Regions from separate parts of the Homo sapiens genome. Here regions 1, 2, 4 and 5 are each linked to region 3. Evidence: promoter capture Hi-C in 16 types of primary human blood cells and fetal thymus (Javierre and others, 2016). All regions are on one chromosome and are shown on one strand. Each heading gives the region's core, a stretch centred on a gene start or on the middle of the fragment in contact. The rest is flanking DNA. Distances are from core to core; before and after follow the strand shown. Region 1 has its middle 22 kb from the start of BTG3. Region 2 has its middle 20 kb from the start of BTG3-AS1. Region 3 holds the start of C21orf91-OT1 (C21orf91 overlapping transcript 1). Region 4 has its middle 39 kb from the start of BTG3. Region 5 has its middle 37 kb from the start of LINC03147.

Region 1 (2,700 bases), core at 111-2,610, 160 kb after region 3:
TGAAAGTGAGTTTAGTTCAGTGGCAGGGTACAAAGTCAATATCAAAAACCAATTGCATTTCTTTATATTAGCAATAAACAATCAGAAATTAAAATTAAAGTTTGCCATGTACAGTGGCATCAAAACTGTAAAATACTTAAGGATAAATTCGACAAAAGATGTTCAAGACCTGTACACTGAAAACTATAAAACATTGCTGAGTAAAATTAAATGTTAAAGAAGACCTAAGTCAATTAAGAAATATACCATATTCCTAGATTAGATGACTCTATATTGTTAAGACGTCATTTCTTCCAAATTGATCTGTATATTCAAGGCATTCTAATAGAAATCCCAGCCAGCTACTTTGTAGAAGTAGCAAGCTGACTCTAAAGTTTAAATTAAAGTGCAGAAGATCTAGAACAGACAAAACAACTTGGAAGAAAAAAGAACAAAGTTAGAGGACATTTTGTGTGTGTGTGGTTTTCTTAAAAAGTATTTTTTTAGGAAGTAATTTCTAAGAGTAGAATTAGTGGATAAAAGGCTAGAAGAAAGCTCAATATCTTATTAAATTTCACAGCTCAAAAACTTTTTGATTTGAAATATTTTAAAAATAAATTTTAAGATCTCATAAGCTTGAGCAGTGCCCAAGTGATTCCACCCTCTGGAGGCCAGGTGATAATGAAATGAGATGTGGTGGGAGGATGGAGTAGGATTACCTGCTGGTGACATAAATGATGAATGGGAAAGAAAAATTCTAATTTACTAACTAAATTAATATTGTGGTAAATTTACTAATAAATAAAAGGAAAAACATCCTACTATATAGAAGATATTTTACAAATATTTGATGTTTATAATTATGCTTCAATAGAGCAAAGACTATCTTCACATTAATTTTTAGAAGCTCTAGAAGATGTACTGAACTGGGAACCTGCTGATGTAAACTTTAGTGCTCTGTGTGCCACTAACCAGACAATTGACTTTGGGCAGGACTTTACGTCTCTAGGTCTTAACCTTGATATTTTCAAAAGGAGGTTATTAAAGGACTATTTTGAGAGTTATGCCACAGATTCTATTTAGGCCTTTCTATTAATATTTCATTACTATTACATTTTGTTACAACTTCCATCCATTTCTTCCCTATAGAATCCAATTCCTTATAATTTATCTTTATTAAAGAGCAGTACCATGGGATTATGTCCAAGGAATCAAAGGTTCTAAAATGGTCTTCCCCTTTACCATCAAGGATCAGTAAAGAAGGCATTAAGCCCAGTATTGTGGCATGCACCTGTAGTTCTAACTACTCAGGATGCTTAGGCAGGAGGATTGCTGGAGCCCAGGAGTTCAGGGTTGCAGTGTACTATGACTGCACCTGTGAATAGTCACTGCACTATAGCCTGGGCAATATAGCAATATCACATCTCTAAAAAAAATTAAAAATTAAAAATTAAAGTTTGAAAAAGAAGACATTTAGCACATCTCTACCACTCATTATGGAAACTTCTGTTTTTGCTTCTTTCTGCAGTCCTCCAAATGTAGTCTGTGATGTATCATAGGCATGGAATACCACCATTATTTCTCTCTAGTGATTTCTAGAACAGTCTAGAGTATTGGAGAATACATAAATAAACTAAAAACAAGTTCAAGTCCACCAACTGACCTTTCTCTAGCTACATCTGCAAAGCTCTGTCTCATATTTTTGTAAGTTCTGATAGCTTACTTACTGGGAAAACTACTGGGCTCATAATAATTTTACTCCGAAAAGAGCCCTGTTTAGGCTATCCTATTTTAGTGCAGAGAGTCAGACTTTAAAAAGATACGCAACATGAACAAAATTTTGCAAAGTCTTAAAAAGTACTTTGTCTTTTAGCTATGATAGAATGAGGTACAACTACATTATTCTGCCCAAGGTAGGCCCCAGATGAAGGATCCCCCCCATATAGGACTTCACTATTTACGTAGAATTTAAGAGATAGGAAATCTCTCCTCTGAAGATCATACTCTTGGGTTCATGAGCTTTTAAAATTTTATTTCCTCCTCTGTTATTCCAGACTATGCCATCAGCCCAAATGACCTGCTAATCTTTACCAGTGTATGTGAGGCTATTCTGAGATATAAGCTTCACATAGCTAATGAAAACTTCAGAGCTAGTCTCACGTTGTTGTAAGGGCAAAAGGAACTTTCTTTTCACCTCCTGAAGGTTTGAGAATTCGAATCTATAAACAAACTTACAATAGACAGATTAATGGGAGAACAGGCATACAAATTTATAAATGTACAAGCACATGGGAGTCAGACAAAGTATAAAACTCAAAGAAGGGCCAGATTATTGAAGGTTAAATACCTTCTTCATAAGGCAGAGGGAAGGAGGGGATGTAGGTAATTTTAGAGGAAGAATAGATAATTTTTAGGGGAGATGAATTGGCTCAAAGAACAGACAATAGCCTGGGACAAAGTTAGTCTGGGCTCTGAGAGAGATGGTGACAATTTATGAGAAGTTTAGTGGCAGAATTGCACTGTGAACAAAGGCTGTCTAATTACGCAGATAAAGTCTCTCAGGCACCATTCCTCAGAAGAATAGATGAAAAGTGTGTCTGGGACTATGTGGGGACAATCTTTTCTTTTAATTTTTTTTGAGGGGTCTTGCTTTGTTGCCCTGGCTGAAGTGCAGTGGCACGATCACAGCTCACTGCAGCCTCCGCCCAGCTCAAGTGACTC
Region 2 (2,700 bases), core at 41-2,540, 200 kb after region 3:
TAAATTTGCAGTCTTAAATTATTTGACTTACCAGAAAAATCACAACTTGCTAATAAATCATTGAATGGCCATGGCTATTCCACAAATTATTGTTATTTTTAGGAAGATAAATTCTGTTGAAATACAAAACTGCACAAATCATAAAGGTATAGCTCAATAGTATGAAAATGTCAGTTTTTAAAGTTTGCAACTTCAGAAAACTCATTTTTAAACCTTAGAGACTTTTCTAGCTTTAATATTGTACTCTTTAAGCCATACACAATTTTAACATCTCTCTAAACCATATCTACTCTTTTCCTGAAATCTAGTGACTGCCTATTCAAACATGAGCATGTTTGTTTATTAGTGTCACAAGGGAGATGCGTTTTATCAATTTTTTTTAACCAAAGTTATTGAAAGAAAAAAAGGAAAAAAAAATTACTTTCAGAGTCATCACACTGCTTCCTTATGGGTCCTTGAGAGTTTTGTGGTGATAATGACAGATTTGTAGGTGATTGGCGTAAAGTTGGAAAGTTTCAAGTATTTTTATCATGAAGTTAGCAGACAGAATTTATTTATTGCTTTGCTTATGAGCAAATTGGTCCTCATCTGTAGGTTTTTCATCTGTATTTAACCATGTATGGAAAATACTCAAAAATTAAAAAAATACAAATTTTAAAATATAACTACATTGCATTAGGTATTATCTAGATTTAAAGGATGTACATAGGTTATATGCAAATACGAAGCCATTTTATATAAGGCACTTGAGCATCTGAGGATTTTGGTATCCAGGAGGGTCCTGGAACAAATCCTCCAAGGATACTGAGGGATGACTATATAGGTTTGTTGGGAAAATCAGAAGCATAATAGTGTAAAGAAGGAAGTGTTATTTTTGGCACATACCTAGTAGCCAGAACATTCCACGTTACTACAAAATCTCCTTAATTAGTTCTGACGATTAAATGACAGGGCCTCTTGGGGAAACCACTAGTTTTGAATTCAACTGCATACAGGTAGATGTTATTACTCATAGAAGATTCTGCCAGTGTTTCGACTACCCATCCTCCACCTTGTCCTGAAACTTATTTAGAGCAAAAGAAAGCTCTCATAAATATGGCTTTTCCAATCTATTCCTAATGAAATAAAACTGTCACTCAGCAACTGGGTCTTAAGTTCTAGCAAGCATGGGGTACAAAAGTTTGCCAAACCCTTTTTTAGTAGTAATTATGACTCTAGGTGCTTTGTTCTCTTAAGTTTGTCTCCCTTAGACAACTCCAAGGTGGCTCTTAAAACATGACTACATAATTTCAGCTTGAAAGCCTTATCGGGCTATTTCAAGCAGGAGTGGTTTATCACTGAACAATAATTTGTTTAAATTCTCCATTTTATTTTTGTATTTGTAGGCATAACTGCAAAGCTCTAAATTTTATAGGTTAAACTTGGATATTTGAAAAAAAAAGTTTTAGTAAGTTCTATCACATTAATACTAAAGCAGTGCTTATTTCTGGTTTATTAGTATAATATTTATCTCAAAGTATTTAACTTTTTAGTAAACTTCTGTGGTTCCAAGTTAAGATAATAAAGCATTTATGTTGACTTCTCAGCTAACAGAGGTATGTGTTAATTTCTTATTTTATGATTAGGAAGAGGGAAAAATACAAACACCTACCATGTACAGTTTATTGTGTAGCCATTCTGTCCATTTTACAGATAATAGTAAATAATTTTTTTAATTTTTATTACTACATGGCAACAACTTATTTAATCATCACAGCCTCAGGGGGTATGTACCATTATCATCCCAGTTAGATAAGGATTCCAGAGAAGTTAAAAATGCCCAAGATCACAGAAAACTAAATAATGAAGCTCTGACTTAAAACCCAGCTGGGCTTTTTTAAGGCCCATGCCATGGTACCTTGCCATCAGATTCATTTTGTTACCTATAAAATCTACCAAATCTTGAAACTTGTAAGAAGGTTCATTATCAGACCAAGATTTTTTTTAAAAAAAGGAACCAGTGCGAAGGTAAATTAATGAGAATATAAGACATTAAAGTATCTATTGATTAACCACTAATAAATCTTTGGCCAAGTTTCTTGTTACAAACTACTCAGATATATCTGAAGAGGGAGCTGGCTGATCATCTGATAGTAATTTTATTGCTGGAAATAGAAATTAAATTGCAATAAACAGTACAACCCAGTAGAGTGAAGACTGAGATGACAAAGCAAACTGTACCAATGACTTGTTACATGGAAAGATCACACATAATGAGTAGTAATTCCCAAGTCTGTCACAGTCTTTAACTTTTTTTTCTTACTTATCAGTTACTTGGCAATTTAACAGAGTGTACAACGTTAGTAAACTTTGTGCCAAATTTCTTCATATACTCTGGAATCTATTGCAATGGATGAAGCAATAACATTGTGAGGCTCTTACGGAAACACAACAATATCCCTGCATTGCATATGGCACTTTATGGCATTGACTCGTACTGCGAAGTTGTCACACAAGCACTCATGAGCACAAGGGAAGGCTCATGCAATTCCTCTTTAAAATATGTACATTTTATTCATTGCAGAAACCATCACCCACTTCCAAATTTAATAGCATTAGTCCATCTTCTATGTTCCTTTGTTCTTTCATGTATACTTTTAAGGGTAACATAAGGACAAAAGTGGAAGCATGTTTAACCCTTATCAAAAACAAATTCACCAT
Region 3 (2,700 bases), core at 1-2,500:
GCCTAGGATGATCAGAACTGATATGCTTTGTAGAGAACAGAACTGTTTCCTTGGTATCAAATCAGTTTCATTGTGACACTTTGCCCAATGCATAGATTTCAGTTAGAGTTCTTGAAATATAAATCATAGCACCGGCTTTCTGCATACTAAAAATGAAAGTTTTTAAATCTTTTACAGAAGTTTTTGAAGAGTTAACTCACCAAGTGCAAGAAAAAGATTCTTTGGCCTCACAGCTCCATGTCCGCCACGTTGCCATCGAACAGCTTCTGAAGAACTGTTCTAAGTTACCATGTCTGCAAGTAGGGCGAACAGGAATGAAGTCGCACCTACCCATAAACAACTGACCTAAACAGACTTACTTCGTATGCCCTGCCCTTTATTGGTCTCCCAGACATGCAAACTTTGAAGAAGTTTGAAGAAAGTTGTGGTCCGTTTTTTTATGGTCATTAAATTTGCCAAACATAAGGCAGTATTTAACATCTTTGTCAAATAAAGCAGATCATTATACTCTAGTCTTCTAGGGCTAATCATTTTGGCTCATTTGGGGACTCTTTTTTCCCAGAATTACTAAACAAATTTTATCACATGTGACTACTTAAATATACTGTTACAGTGTCATTTTATTAAACATTTTAATTCACCTGTCAAAACAACAGATTAACTCCTTAGTGTAAACTACTAGAGATAATTTTTAAGAGGGAAATGGAATTCATATCACCTCTTATTTATTATGAGCAATATTTTAATATAAAAATTTTATATGTGAAAATGCTATTTTAGGTACTTTGCCATTCTCTTTATAAATGTGTATTTGAGTGGTTCTGTATATTTATTTACATTATCATGTGTGAATATGTTCACCCATATTTCAGGTCACTGCATTTTATTCTCTTAATACAATGTTTTCACAACGGTTACCTTGCTTTCCAAAGATAAATATATTTTGGATTAGAAATCTGAGTTGTTTTAATTTCTAATACCTCTTGTAAAAGAAGAATTAATAACTTTTTAAAGCAGTATTCAGGTAAATACAATACATTATTTTGTTTTCTAACAAAAGCAGTTCTTAGTTCAGGAAGAAAAGACTAATCTGGCTTCTATGTCAATTTGTCTCCATAGAAATGAAAGCCTCCTCTTGCTTCTTTCATTATTAGCTTCACACCAGTGACTGTGATGCATTAGAATTTGGACAGAGTAAGTCAAGCCTCACTTCCAATTCAAATATAATGTCTATCTTCAAATTGAGTGTGCTGTGAAATTGTTCTGTCTTTGAAAAAAAAAAGTAAGATTATTTTGTGTGCCACTTTGGGTAAAGTTTCAAGAATACTTAAACTGTCCAAATTGTATTATCACCATCATTGAACTTAGTGCTCAAAGAAAGCATTGTGAGGTATTTTTCTAAACTTTAGACTCTATAGAGAAATATAGGATTGTTCTACAGAAGAAAAGCAAAACTCCTAATTAAAAAAAAATAAACCTATGTATTAAGAGAATGTTCTCGTAAGTTGCCTATGATGCTTCCAAAGAGTTTTTATCTAACAGATTGTGCCAAACAGCTAGATAAATTTTAATAATGTATTACAGTAAAGGCTATAACCAATGCAGAATTAAAATGGGCTCTAAATTCTGTTTTTAACTCATGTTTAGAATGTACTTATGAGGTAGATCCTTGCTTGAAAGTATCTGCTGAAAAGCCCAGTAACGTGGCAGCTTCATGCATAAAGATATAAATGACATTTGCCTTAAATTTGGCAGCCTACCCTGGCTTGGGTCAGATTTTGTTGTTGAACACAAGAAAGTATTTAAGCAAAGAAACACTTCAGTTTAATTGAAAACAACTTTTTGTAATGCTGACGTGTTAAATTGGCCTGAGGGTATTAATTGATATCTGTTGATTTTGTTTTTCTTTGAAGTATAACATTACTTTTTGGAGGGAATTTTTGAAAGATGCTTTCGATTTCTCTCAATTCTTTAAGTCATGCAAAATGAATTTAAAATCCAGGGAGTATGGATGCATTGCCTTAGTTTTGATGAGCTTTAAATTAAATGTGTGCAATATCAAAATATTCAAACTTACAAGCTGGGTAAATACATTTCCTGATTAATATCTTAGTGCTTAATTGTTCCCACATTTTCAAATTTGACTTTACTCTTTTTTGGCGTAATTCAGTAAGATTGTTACCAGCCAGTGTGTTTGCACACATTTGGGTTTGTGTTTAGATGAGTTAGGGACAGTCATAAAAGTTGGGGATATGTTGCATTTGATATCAATAGTAGCATATTTCCAGAATATGAGCCATAAGTTGCAGTCCTGAATACAACAGTGTTATCCAAAGAAAGGAGTTTTCTGACAAATATACATAGCTTTGCTAATGAGTACGGAACAAGTGGATGAACGTGTGCATGTGCTAAGGTCTTAAGTGGGACTCTGATTTATTCCATTTAGATATTTCTACTTAAGCTCTAAAAAGGAGAGGTGCTCTTAAAAAAAACTTTGTGGTGCTGGTACTCACACTACTTTATTTGGATGAGTTCCTAGTAAAAAAAACTTTTTGTTGAAGTATTTTGCACAGCAGTTTATCCAAATGTTTGGTAAACTTATAATTTAGTCCTATGTTAGTTTTCTTAATCAAATATGCAATTACTGTGTATGCAAATATAAGTATCAGGTACAGAGTTGAGTTCTAACAAGAGAACATG
Region 4 (2,700 bases), core at 26-2,525, 140 kb after region 3:
CCCCTGACAGGCCCCAGTGTGTGATGTTCCCCTCCCTGTGTCCGTGTGCTCTCATTGTTCAACTCCCACTTATGAGTGACAACATGCAGCGTTTGGTTTTCTGTTCCTTGTTAGTTTGCTAAGGATGATGCTAAGCTTTATCCATGTCCCTGCAAAGGACATGAACTCATCCTTTTTTATGGCTGCATAATATTCCATGGTGTATATGTGCCACATTTTTTTTATCCAGTCTATCATTCATGGGCATTTGGGTTGGGTCCAAGTCTTTTCTATGGTGAATAGTGCTGCAATAAACATGCGTGTGCATGTGTCTTTATAGTAGAATGATTTATAATCCTTTGGGTATATACCCGGTAATGGGATTTCTGGGTCAAATGGCATTTCTGGTTCTAGATCCTTGAGGAATTGCCACACTGTCTTCCACAACGGTTCAACTCCCACCAACAGTCTCGTTTTTAAGGGGCTGAGCTTTTCTTATACATGGAAGGTTTGTTTTGTTTTGTTTAGCTTTTAAGCAAAGCTTTTCAGTTTGTAACTTGCTGAGTATTTTTCTTTTGAGAATAACTGGAGAAATATTGGCCACTGATTTTTATGTATAATACAGGTGTGTTTTTCCAGTTTGTTGGTTCCTGTCCCCTCTCTGTTAACTGTTTGACTATTGGAACAGTATGTCTTCAATAATGCAATGTTATTTTGAGATATGCATATTAGTATACCCTTAGTTATTCTTGAAATAAAATCAATCTCTTAGCTTATCGTTGCAGTGGAAAAAAATTGAAGAGAAAAAAGATGAAGAAAATCTAAACCTGCTGTCCAAATGTTGTGTGTTGGAGAAGATTTTCTTTCTCTCTGTTTATGAGATTTTCTAATGATAGCATCACAGACAAATTCCTTTCACCTTTAGTGTTGCTATCTTCTCTCTTAAGCTTCCCATAGGTTTTCTGTCTTACATCATGACTTCTGCCTCCAAATTCTTCCATTCAATTTACTTTTATGAAATTGAATGGAATTCAATTTCCCATGATTCACCTGCCTGTATTTCTTGCTTAGAGATATGAACCTAGTACTTCTAGATAGCTTTATAATTATAATATAAAATTCTTGAAAACTAGAAGTATGTCTTGTGCTTTAAAAACCTAGCACCTGATTCCATTTTTGCAACACTATGAACACATATAATGTGAATATTTCCTAGTGACAATTTATTGAGCACCTTCTATTATGGTGGTGATATAGTCACTCTACACAGGTCATTTGATTAAATGCTAGAAACAACTCTGCAAGGTGAGTACAATAATCACCATTTTGCAGATGAACAAATGGTAAGGGAAAGAAAAAGCAGTGAAAATTTCACCTTAGCTCTGAGAAAAAGAAGTATCACAAATTTTGTTTAAATCAAATTGAGCTGCGTCAGCAAGTAGGAAATTGCATTTTAATCATTTCTGGACTTCCCTCCTCCAATTCCACTTCCAGGTGACACAGAAATCGGGAGTAGAGATGTCTTCTTAGGTCCTAAATCCTGAAAGAAAGGTGTATGGCCTCCACTGGTCCTCACTGATATGCTTATTGTCCAGGCTCTCATGATCTAGTCCCTGAGGGAAGTGGTACTCACCGATAAGCTTGGACAAAGGTCTCTGACTTCTCTATCAAGGCAGTTCCTGAGACCAGGGCTCCTAGAGGTCTTCCCTTTGTCCTGAGGCAATCCACCCAACTAGGAGTTAACAAGCAGGACCTGGGGGCTACTTTCTTTGCAAACCACCCAAACTCCCTTCCTTCTTGTCTCGAGGAATTTGCTACCTGAAGTCAATTCTGCCTCCACCTCCCAGCACCCCCTAGAAGACCTCATCTTTCTTTTCCTCCACTCTACGTGATGTGGCATAATCCCTGCAGTAGGTCTAATCATCCAAACAAAACAAAACAAAAATGGAATGAAGCTGTTCTTGGGGAACACCTGCTTTCCATTCGACCATCCAAAGCCCCTGGAACACAATGGCGTGGCTATTTTCTTGGAATGGGAAGGGGGAAAATACCTTTGAGCAGTGAAAACGAAACACGTATCTGTGGAGGAAAACAAAAAGATGTATAACTTCCTATATTTTGTGGGGGCAGGGAATGGGGAGTTGGTGGTCAAAGGGCACAAATGTATGATTAGGAGAAATAAGTTTCGAAATCTATTGCACGGCAGAGTAACTACAGTCAGTATTGTATAGTATATTCCAAAATAACTTAGAGTAAATTTCAAATGTCTCACCACAAAAAAAAATTATAAGTAAGTGAGGTGATGGATATGTTAATTAGCTAGATTTAGTCACTTCATATTGTATAGATACATAAAACATAACATGGTGCCCCATGAATGTATACAATTATGATTTGTCAATTAAAAAAAATACATACATATATTTATATACTCCAATTTAAATACACATATACATATGTATATAAACATAAATAAGCAGGTATGTATATAATTATATTTATAACATATGCAGTTGAATGAATGTCTGTGAGAAAAGGAGATTTTCACTGTAAAAAAAGTTAACTTCCATTAAGAGAACCTGTCTCATCCTCTAGTCTTCTGCTATTGCCTTTGAACCACATTCCAAAGCCAGGGAAAAAACATGTTTACAAAACTGCAAAGGTCAAGGCCAGTAATGGAAATTGATTTTACATGCTCAGCTGAGTGTTTTTAGAACCATG
Region 5 (2,700 bases), core at 62-2,561, 130 kb before region 3:
AGGCACAGTGGCTCAGGCCTGTAATCCCAGTACTTTGGGAGGCTGAGGTGGGCGAATCACGAGGTCAGGAGTTTGAGACCAGCCTGACCAACATGGTGAAACCCCGTCTCTACTAAAAATACAAAAAATTAGCTGGACATAGTGGCGGGCACCTGTAGTCCCAGCTACTCCAGAGGCTGAGGCAGGAGAATTGCTTGAACCCAGGAGGCGGAGGTTGCAGTGAGCCGAGATTGTGACCCCACACTCCAGCCTGGGCAACAATGCGAGACTTCGTCTCAAAAAAAAAAAAAAAAACTGAAGAATTAGGGAAAATGTTATATAAAATGTCCTCTGAGATCTTGTGGGAAAGTTGTTAACATCTTTTTACTTTTTTTAATTTATTTTACAAATCTGTAAAATTGAGCCCATGCTTACACCTACCTCATAGGGCAGTTGTCAGCATTTATGGTGATAATGCAGACTTTGGCAGGAAAAAAAAAAAGAGGCAGAAAAAGACAAAGTCTGCTGTAAATAATGGAAAAGCTTGTGAAAGGAAAATAAATCTTGAGGCCCCCAAATCACTAAGCTAAAGGGAAAAGTCAAGCTGGGACTACTTAGGGCAAACCTGCCTCCCATTCTATTCAAAGCCAACCCCCACCCCTGCTCACTGAGATAAATGCATATCTCATTGCCTTCTTTGGAGGGGCTAATCAGAAACTCAAAAGAATGTAACCATTTGTTTCTTATCTACCTATGAGCTGGAAGTCCCCTCCCTGCTTGAAGTTGTCCCACCTTTGCTTCCAATTGTCCCACTTTTCCAGAAGGAACCAATGTTCATCTTTCATATGTTGACTGATGTCTCCCGTCTCCCTAAAATGAATAAAAGCAAGCTGTGCTCTGACCACCTTGGGCACGTGTCTTCAGGACTCCTGAGGCTGTCACGGCTGCATGTCCTCAAACTTGGCAAAATAAACTCTCTAAATTAACTGAGACCTGTCTCAGATATTCAGAGTTCGCAACCTTTAGGAGCTACATCTCAGTGCATTCAGTAAAAGAATAAACTTAAAGCTAAGACCTCATAAGGAATGTCACCCCACATTCCTGAAATCTAATGTAAAACATTGCTGTTGTTATTGTGTTTAATTTCCACATAAATAGCAGTAATACTATCACACTACATGGGCAATTAAATAACCCTTTATTTAATTAAAGTACTTCATAGATAAGTGTGCTAACAACCTTATCAGAGCTACCACTGATGAGTTCCAAACCAGATTTATCAACCCATCTTGAGTGTCTCCTCTGATTCTTCAGCCTCATCTATTTTGTGGGCCATTGGCTGCTTTCTCTGTAGTAATTGCAGCCACAGCAAGTCATACTAGGCTGTCCAGACATCCAGAATCTCTGGGCCTCGCTCCACCTCTAAAGCAGTGGAACAATGTTGTAAATTTTCTCTGGAATGACCTTTAGCCAACAGGAGACAGGAGACATGAGTGAGCTCACAGATAAATTTCCCCCACAATTTTCCATCTGTTGGGTTGTTCTGAGGTACAGTGTTTTTTTTTTTTTAGAGCCATAAGCAGTGGCCCACTTGGTATATCACCTTGAATTTGCTTCTTAGACTTCTCTGTCTCACTTCTTCTTTTCTTCACTCTAACTGTACTGCCATGTACCTCCTAATTAAGCATTATCACTTCAACTTTCCCTAAGATTCTTTTGGTTAAGTTGAACATGAACTTAACTGTAAATAAGAAACCAGAAATAGCATCATATTTCATAACTTTCCTTTATTGTGGAATAAATCTGGACAATCTGTCAATTTATTCTTTTTCTTGGAAAAAATAGAAATTTGGAGTGTTCACTGAGATAATTTGGTAAAGCACTAAATGCTTATTACTACTCACAGTATGATTAATTTAAACATCTGCTGTCCACATGCTGCATCAACCTAGTCCAGCTCAGCATTATCTCTTGCCTGGACTTGTACCAAAAATTCCTAGCTGGCCTTCCTGACTGTAGCCTTAACCTGTGTCAACACATTGCCCTCCCTGCTGCCAGAATGATTCATCAGTCAGGATATACTAACTGCTGTAATAAACAACCCCTAAGTCCCAAAGCTTAACACAACATCTGCCTATTTCTCACACGTCTCAATTCAATGAGAGACAAAGGTGGATAAATGTCTATTCCACCTAATCTTTTAAGGACTTGCTTCCTTCTTCCTAGTGGCTCCTTCATCCCCCTAGAGTTTACATCCTATTCTAGATACTGTACCTCTCACCTGCCAAGTAGCAAAGGAAGAAAGCATGGAAGATTGTACACAAGAGGGTTAGACCCCCTGCCTATAAGGGGCACACATCACTTCTGCCCAACACACCCTTGGTGGTTAATTTTATGTGTTAACTTAGATGATGTTTCTGAATGGCATTAACATTTAAAACAGTGAACTTTGCATAAAGAAGATTGCCCTCCATAATATAGATGAGGCTCATCCGATCAGTTGAAGGCCTGAATAGAACAAAAAGACCAGCCTCCTCAAGCAAGAGGGAATTCTTCAGCAAACTACCTTCACATTTCATTGGCATCATAGACTCTCCTGAGCCTCTGCCTGCCAGTTCACACTGCAGATTTTGGACTTCCCAGCCTCTATAATCACAGGAAACAATTTCTTATAATAAATCTGTTTCTGTCTATCTATCTATCCATCCATCCTATTGGTCC

Evidence for each region. The method cuts DNA at HindIII sites, captures the fragments that hold promoters and counts their contacts. A CHiCAGO score of 5 or more calls a contact.
Region 1: a fragment that was not itself captured here is called in contact with the fragment with the promoter of C21orf91-OT1 in region 3 in 2 of 17 cell types (activated CD4 T cells and naive CD4 T cells); the score reaches 5.9 in activated CD4 T cells.
Region 2: a contact is called between a fragment that was not itself captured here and the fragment with the promoter of C21orf91-OT1 in region 3, in 6 of 17 cell types (naive B cells, activated CD4 T cells, total CD4 T cells and 3 more). The highest score is 5.7, in naive B cells.
Region 4: a fragment that was not itself captured here is called in contact with the fragment with the promoter of C21orf91-OT1 in region 3 in 1 of 17 cell types (activated CD4 T cells); the score reaches 6.0 in activated CD4 T cells.
Region 5: a contact is called between a fragment that was not itself captured here and the fragment with the promoter of C21orf91-OT1 in region 3, in 3 of 17 cell types (activated CD4 T cells, naive CD8 T cells and total CD8 T cells). The highest score is 6.4, in activated CD4 T cells.

Annotation. Positions count from the first base shown.
Region 1 is chr21:17,633,469-17,636,168 of GRCh38, reverse strand. It overlaps a transcript of CXADR not described here. Among named protein-coding and RNA genes, the nearest start is that of BTG3, 22 kb to the right of the region's middle. The HindIII fragment of the contact is 1,487 bases long and covers 617-2,103 here.
Region 2 is chr21:17,590,346-17,593,045 of GRCh38, reverse strand. It overlaps a transcript of CXADR not described here. Among named protein-coding and RNA genes, the nearest start is that of BTG3-AS1, 20 kb to the left of the region's middle. The HindIII fragment of the contact is 5,720 bases long and covers 1-2,700 here.
Region 3 is chr21:17,791,059-17,793,758 of GRCh38, reverse strand. It overlaps C21orf91-OT1 (C21orf91 overlapping transcript 1), which reads left to right and starts at 1,250. Exons shown (of 4, transcript NR_038871.1): 1 at 1,250-1,282. It overlaps C21orf91 (chromosome 21 open reading frame 91), which reads left to right. Exons shown (of 5, transcript NM_001100420.2): 5 at 178-2,700. The coding sequence ends at 344. All of the region lies in intron 2 of LOC124900465 (a long non-coding RNA gene), which reads right to left. The HindIII fragment of the contact is 3,892 bases long and covers 1-2,700 here.
Region 4 is chr21:17,650,441-17,653,140 of GRCh38, reverse strand. No RefSeq gene overlaps it. Among named protein-coding and RNA genes, the nearest start is that of BTG3, 39 kb to the right of the region's middle. The HindIII fragment of the contact is 693 bases long and covers 929-1,621 here.
Region 5 is chr21:17,921,057-17,923,756 of GRCh38, reverse strand. It overlaps a transcript of CHODL not described here. Among named protein-coding and RNA genes, the nearest start is that of LINC03147, 37 kb to the right of the region's middle. The HindIII fragment of the contact is 1,574 bases long and covers 525-2,098 here.